Regions from separate parts of the Homo sapiens genome. Here region 2 is linked to region 1. Evidence: promoter capture Hi-C in human tissues and cell types (Jung and others, 2019). All regions are on one chromosome and are shown on one strand. The core of a region is centred on a gene start or on the middle of the fragment in contact, and the rest is flanking DNA. Distances in the headings are between cores, read along the strand shown.

Region 1 (3,392 bases), core at 272-2,771:
AAATGGCATGGACACCAGGCACTCCTGGCTTGCTGTGTGATGAGGCACTGCCTTTCTCCTGGCCTCAGTCTGCAGCTGTGAAATGGGGCAGTAATAATCCCATCCATACAAAGGTTGCTTTGACACTCAAGTAAGGCAAGGGGTGTGAAGGGGCTTGGTTACAAGAGGTCAAAAGGAGAGAATAAAACGCTGGAATCAGGGAGGCGAGACATCAGAGTGATAATATCGGTTCTGCTCTTTAGACTTTCAAAGTCCTTTCCCAGCGCCTTTTACAGCCATGTGGGCTCAATGCCTCCTTCCCTCTGACCTCCTGCCTGCTTCCCCCCCGCCCATTCTGTTCCACATACGCTGGCTGTTCCCTCTGCCTGGAACACTCTTCTCCTAGGCATCCACATGGCTCACCCCTCACCTTCTTTTCAAAGCCTTGCCTCTCTCTGAGGTTTGTTTTTTCCAGCTATCCAATGAGGAGTTTGGGCGTGAAGACCTCGTGGGAACCCTCTGGTTCTGATGGTAACCATTTTCCACCTGCCTGCCTTCTCTGGGAAGTCCTCCCAATCCTACCACCCACACCCACCTGCTTTTCTGAGCTAGCACTTCATTGCTTACTGCCCATAGTTTTCAAGTCCCTTCCTTATGTATAGGCCAGCTACTCTGGACATTGGGCCCAACACAGGGGCTCAAGTGAACTCTGGTTAAACGGAATTAAAAGTGATTACTGCTTCCTTTGTTTTTTGAGACAGAGTCTCGTTTTGTCACCCGGGCTGGAGTGCAGTGGTGCCATCATAGCTCAGGGCAGCCTCGACTCCCCAGATGCAGGTGCTCCTCCCGCCTCAGCCTCCTGAGTAGCTGGGACCAACGGGCGCGCCCCCCCTCACCCAGCTAATTTTTTTTTTTTGTATTTTTAGTAGAAACGGAGGTTTTACTGTGTTGCCCAAGCTGGTCTCGAACTCCTGGGCTCAAGTGATCCCCCCGCTTTGGCCTTCCAAAGTACTGGGATTACAGGCATGAGCCACTGCGCCCAGCTGATTCCTGCTTCCTTCCGATCCTGTGGAGAGACACTGAGGCGGATTTTTATTCACCCCCTTTTTATAAATTAGAAACTGAAAGTGTCAGAGATTAAACATAAGTCACACTGCCACATGGGCCTTCTTGGTGTTTCTTAGCCAGGGGAAGAATAATATTTCCCAGATCCTAATCACTACCTGCCACGGTATATAATTGTTTTGCCATTAATTGTCGGTGTTTCCCACTAGGATGAAGTTCCATGAGGGCAGGGATTTTGTTGTGTTCACTGCTGCATCCTAAGCACATAAAACTGCTTGGCACATAATAAGTGCTCAAGAAGCATGAACCGAGGGAGTAACGGGTCAGAGGCAGCCCGAGGACTGAGCTCTCTGAGCCTGCAGAGGGCGCTCCAGCCCCGCCCCCAAAGCTAGGCCCCGCCTCTCGCAGCCGGCTGGCGCACTAGTGTTAGAGCCTGCGCACCACCGTTCTTTTAACTGCGCAGGCGCGCCGGAAGCACCTAGAGAGCGGCGCGTGCGCAGCGGGAGTCGAAGCGGAGATCCCGGGGTCGCGCGAGAGCCGCAAGCGGAGTTGGTGGGCGCTATGCTATCACCCGAGGCAGAGCGAGTGCTGCGGTACCTTGTAGAAGTGGAGGAGCTCGCCGAGGAGGTGCTGGCGGACAAGCGGCAGGTGAGAGGCCCCTCCGCGGCGCTGGGGCCTGGCGGCCGGCGCCGTGGGAAAGCGCGCGGGGTCGCAGTGAGTTGACCTGGACAGGCGGTTAACGGCTCCGAGGCGACAGACCTGGGCCGATAAATATTCGGCCGCTACTAAGTGAGCGCCTGCGCTATGCTGGACATTCCTCTCTCTTCATCCTTTCTCTGCCCCTTGCCATGCTCTGTGGATCTCGACCCATCATGCTCTGGGCCGTTTCCCTGAGCACCTGTTTCAAAATGCACTTCCCGGCCCCATGGTTGATCTAGGGGCACCGCCCTGTAAAGGCCCTCAGGGGAGAGCTGGAACCGAAAAGAAGCCTGAGGGGGCCTTGTGACCGGGCAGGGGTGGGGACGTGGGGGAAGGTGGCGCCCTGTTTATGGGGTGTCTTGTTTTAAGTGCCAAGTTTTTGAGGGGAGTTCCTGGGGGAAGGAGGGTGACGTAATTGGATTTAGGTTTTAAAAGGATCCCCCCTGGCTGCTGTGTGGAATACAGAATATAGGTGGGCAAGGGCGGAGGCAGGGAGATGGGTGAGGGGCCATTGGTATGGTCCAGACCAGAGATGGATTTGGACTAGGTAGTGGTGGTGGAGAGAAGTGAAGGGGTCAGAAATGTATTTTGGAGACAGACTCAGTAGGCCGTGGTAGTGGAGCCGGGGGAGTCGTGACTCCCTCTCATCTCCAGTTAGAAGGGTCAGGTATTTACTGAGAAGGGGAAAACTTGGGCAAGATCCTGTCAAATTAAGTACTGGATCAGGGTGTGCTGGATGAGAATAAGAGCAGTTAAAGTTTATCAGCTACTTACTATGTGCCAGGTACTGTGTTAAGTCATTTAATTGCTGGCTCAATAACCTGTAAGGTAGGTACTGTCCGTAGCTCCATTTTGAGGAGGAGTAAATAGGAAGGTGAAATTACACAGCTTGAGGCAGATAGCAGGATTCGAACCTGGGTATTCCAAATCCAGAACCAGCACTCGTGCAGTATACTGTACTACTGCGTCACTTCCTTAGTAGCTATTGTGTTGTTACCACTGTCTCAGTGCCCCCAATCCTGCTGTTCCAATCTAGTATTGTTGGGTTTCTCATATTACTAGTTCAGAATCAGCTGGAGAAGTTTGTCCAAAAATAAACATTAGGCCTGCTTAATCACAGTGTGTAGGGGAAGGGTTTCCACTCCCCTGGTGATTCTGATATGCCCTAAAGTTCGAGTGGATAATGCAGAATTTCCCATTTAGTCAGCACATGTTTTCTCAGCATCTTTTCTGGGGAGAGGGCAGCTGCACAAAGCATTGTCTTTAAGACCAGGAAGCTGAGTGAGAGAAGAAATACATTCACACATCAATCCATTTTAGGCAGGACGTTGAATGTAATCAGGAATAATGCATTGCCTCTGCAACCCTTGTCTGTCAAGAGGTGACAGCTTGGGGCAAGAGATAGCTGAGTTCCCTCCTGTCCCTGTGGTTTTCAGATTGTGGACCTGGACACTAAAAGGAATCAGAATCGAGAGGGCCTGAGGGCCCTGCAGAAGGATCTCAGCCTCTCTGGTAAGTTGAAATTTTCTCAGTGCAGCCCTGGAGGCCTGTTCCGTTTTCCTTTAAGGCCTTTACCTTGTTCCTGATAGAGATCAGGCAGGAGGTCACAGCTGTATAACTCAGCCTTGTGGGAAATTGAAACAGTCCGG
Region 2 (3,392 bases), core at 326-2,825, 38 kb before region 1:
AGAGTTTCGCTCTTGTTGCCCAGGCTGGAGTGCAGTGGTGTGATCTCGGCTCACCACAACCTCCGCTTCCAGAGTTCAAGCGATTCTCCTGCCTCAGCCTCCCGAGTAGCTGGGATTACAGGCATACGCCATCATGCCTGGCTAATTTTGTATTTTTAGTAGAGACGGGGTTTCTCCATGTTGGTCAGGCTTGTCTCAAACTCCTGACCTTAGGTGATCCACCCGCCTCAGCCTCCCAAAGTGCTGGGATAACAGGTGTGGGCCACCACGCCTGGCCTGATCTCAGTTTTAAAGCATGGGTTGGCATCTGAAGGCACACAAGAGATGGAAGGTCATTCCAGGTGGGAGAATCAGCTGAAGCAAAGGCTCAGAGGCCTGAAAGAATTTGGCATTTTAGGGGAATGGCCAGAGGTTTGCTGGGCCTGGACAAGGGGTTTTAATGGGCAGGGACATAAGGAGACTAGAATTGTGAAGGGCATGAAATTCTGGACTGAAGAGTTCAGATTTTATTCTCTATCTGAATGCCATCCCAGAATCAGGGGTGATGAGCTTGGCTCAGTGGCTTAGAAAGCTTGCTGTGGAGGCTGGCTTGGAGGAAAGCCAGGAGAGGATGGGGTTTGGTCCAGGTCTGAAATTACAGGGCTGAGCTAAGGCATGGGATACAGGAAGGGCAGAGAGAGATCTGGAGATGGCCAGAGGTGGGGGCTGGGGGAGAAACCAAGATGGCCCTTAGAACTTCTGAGGGCCTAGAACACAGGCCGTCTTTCCTAGCCTCCATCCCCACTGCCGCCACATTCCCTTCCCCTTCCCATGGCTCTGGCTTTGACTAGGAAGGAGAGACCAGCTGGTCCAATGTGAAGGGGCCTGGGGAGTTGGGGGAAGGTGACACCCTGGAAGTTTCTCTCAGGCTGGAAGACCATCTGTTTCCGGGCCCGGGTCAGCATGAGAGAGGCCCTGGCCCCTGGCCAGCATCCATCACTACCTGACGGGCCACCTGCCCACCTCCCTGCCCACTCCTGCCCCCTCCTCTGCCAGCTCCTAGCTAACCACAGACAAAGGGCTCACACAGCCCAGGGCCACAGTGGGCAGGAGCAGGGATGGAGGAAGAGAAGAGAGGAGGGCTCTGAGTACCAGGAATGTGGGGTCAGTGGGGAGTGTGGAAAGACCACACTGTGGTCTGGGGATAAAAGGCCTGGGTTCTGCCTCGCTCTGCCCCTTTTGGCAACAGGAGCAAAACTGTGGCTGTTCCTTCCAGCCAGCACGAAAAGCTCTCTGCCAAGGGCCTGTGAGATTTTCATGGGCCTAGGGAAATGTTTGAAGCCTGAAAAAAAAAAATTGGCTCCAAAACACAGGGAAAAACTACAGAATCAAAATTAATAAATGTTTAATTAAATGTGTGCAAAACAGAACATGATGTCAGCCAGTCAACTACAATTTGGCTTTTATCTAGTCATATATAATTTACATGGGATGTTTGATGTAGCTGCATTTTAATATGCTTGATAGATGTGGTGCCCACAAAGGTCTTAAAACAGTCCTGCCCAGGACATGCAACCTAATTTCCCTGGCCCTCAGTTTCCCTTCTCTAAAATGGGAATGGCACTTGCCATTCTGCTTACACATAGCCACTGGGGTAAGGATGAGGGAGGAAAGGTAGCAATGGCTGGCATGTGGGTTTGATTCCCAGCCCTGTCCCAGACCTGCTGTGTGACCTTGGGTAGTCTCTCCACTTCTCTGAGCTTTATTTTCCTCCTTGTTGTGAGCATTAAATGAGTGTGATGGGGCAGGGTGCAGTGGCTCACACCTGTAATCCCAACACTTTGGGAGGCCGAGGTAGGTGGATCTCTTGAACCGGGGAGTTTGAGACCAGTCTGGGCAACACAGTGAGTCCCTGTTTCCACACACACACACACACACACACACACACACACACGCAATGAATTTAAAAATAGTTTATAAACTATAAAGGGTGTCCATAGAGGGAGTAGCATACACTGGGCAGGGGCCGCTGGCTCCTCCTCACCACCAGGCAACCTCTCTTGAAACCTCCTCTAGGAAGTCCACCCTATCCCACATCCCACTCTATTTGAAATGAAGTTGAAAGAAGCTGATCTTCACCCAAGGGAAGAACACCACACCTCAGGGAAGGGAATCCAGATTGGGGGTGGTGTACATCTGATCTTCTCCAAAATTATCCCCAGGCCAGGTGTGGCGGCTCATGCCTGGAATCCCAACATTTTGGGAGGCCAAGGCGGGAGGATCACTTGAGCCCAGGAGTTCAAGACCAGCCTGGGCATCACAGAGAAACCCCATCTCTACAAAACATTTAAAAATTGGCCGATGTGGTGGCGTGTGCCTGTAGTCCCAGCTACTCAGGAGGCTGAGGTGGGAAGATCACTTGAGTCCAGGAGTTCGAGGCTGCAGTCAGCCATGACTGCACCACTGCACTCCAGCCTGGGTGACAGGGTGAGAGTCCATCACTAAAAAACAACAAAATCCCCAGTCTGTCCATGTCTCCTCTGCTACCACCTGTGCAGGCCACAGTCATCTTGCCTGGGTGACCACGTCAGCCTTCTGTGTGGCTGCCCGCATCCACTCCTGCCTCCCTACAGTCCATTCTCCACATGGCAACCAGCAGGATATTTTTAAAACCTGTCAGATCATGTCATTCCCCTTCTCAAAGCCTTCCAAGGGCCTCCCATCACACTTGGAATAAAACCCACGCTTCTCCCCTCGGCGTGCAGGCCCTAAACCATCTGGCCCTGCCTGTTTCTCTCACCTCATCTCAAACCACTGTCCCACTTGTTCCTGACACTCCAGATGCGCTGGGGGGGGGGTGTCCTAAAACTCAGCCAGACTTGTCCCTGGCTCAGGACGTCTGCACTTGCTCTGCCTGGAATACCCCTTTCCCAGATCCTCCCATGGCTGGCTCCTCATCAGCTCACACCTTCTCAGAGAGGCCTCCCAGGCCACCCTTGCCAACTCACTCTAGTCTACCACACCCCCTGTCTTATTTTCATCTTAACCTACACTATGAAATCACCGTTTATTTATTTATTTTCCATTCTCCCACTGTGAATCCATGAGGGCAGGGATCTCGTCTGTCTTGATCACCCCTGTGTCCCCAGCATCAGTGCCTGTAGAATAGGCACTGATGCATTATTGAGTAGGCACTGACTATTTGCTGAATGAATACATGTGAGTATCTGTGTGCATCTCCCTCCTGACCTTACAGGGCTCTGGGGTTTCTCTGCTTGAAGTTGCAAAGAGCCAGGACACCTCACAGGCTCCTCCTGCCCTCGCTGACTCATTCTTGACCTTCTTCCTACAGGAAGCCCTCTCTGATGCCCCTCTAGCCCAGTTAGGCCTCACTTTCTCTAACAGCTCTCAGG

The links. The method cuts DNA at HindIII sites, captures the fragments that hold promoters and counts their contacts. A contact is called where the count stands out against the background at its distance.
Region 2: a contact is called between a fragment that was not itself captured here and the fragment with the promoter of PDRG1 in region 1, in 2 of the 25 tissues and cell types used here (lymphoblastoid cells and mesenchymal stem cells).

What each region holds. Positions count from the first base shown.
Region 1 is chr20:31,950,175-31,953,566 of GRCh38, reverse strand. It overlaps PDRG1 (p53 and DNA damage regulated 1), which reads left to right and starts at 1,521. Exons shown (of 5, transcript NM_030815.3): 1 at 1,521-1,692; 2 at 3,180-3,255. The coding sequence starts at 1,606. The HindIII fragment of the contact is 6,454 bases long and covers 1-3,392 here.
Region 2 is chr20:31,988,721-31,992,112 of GRCh38, reverse strand. The region is part of intron 1 of XKR7 (XK related 7); the gene reads right to left. Among named protein-coding and RNA genes, the nearest start is that of CCM2L, 20 kb to the left of the region's middle. RefSeq lists enhancers at 2,358-3,191, 3,192-3,392. The HindIII fragment of the contact is 4,296 bases long and covers 1-3,392 here.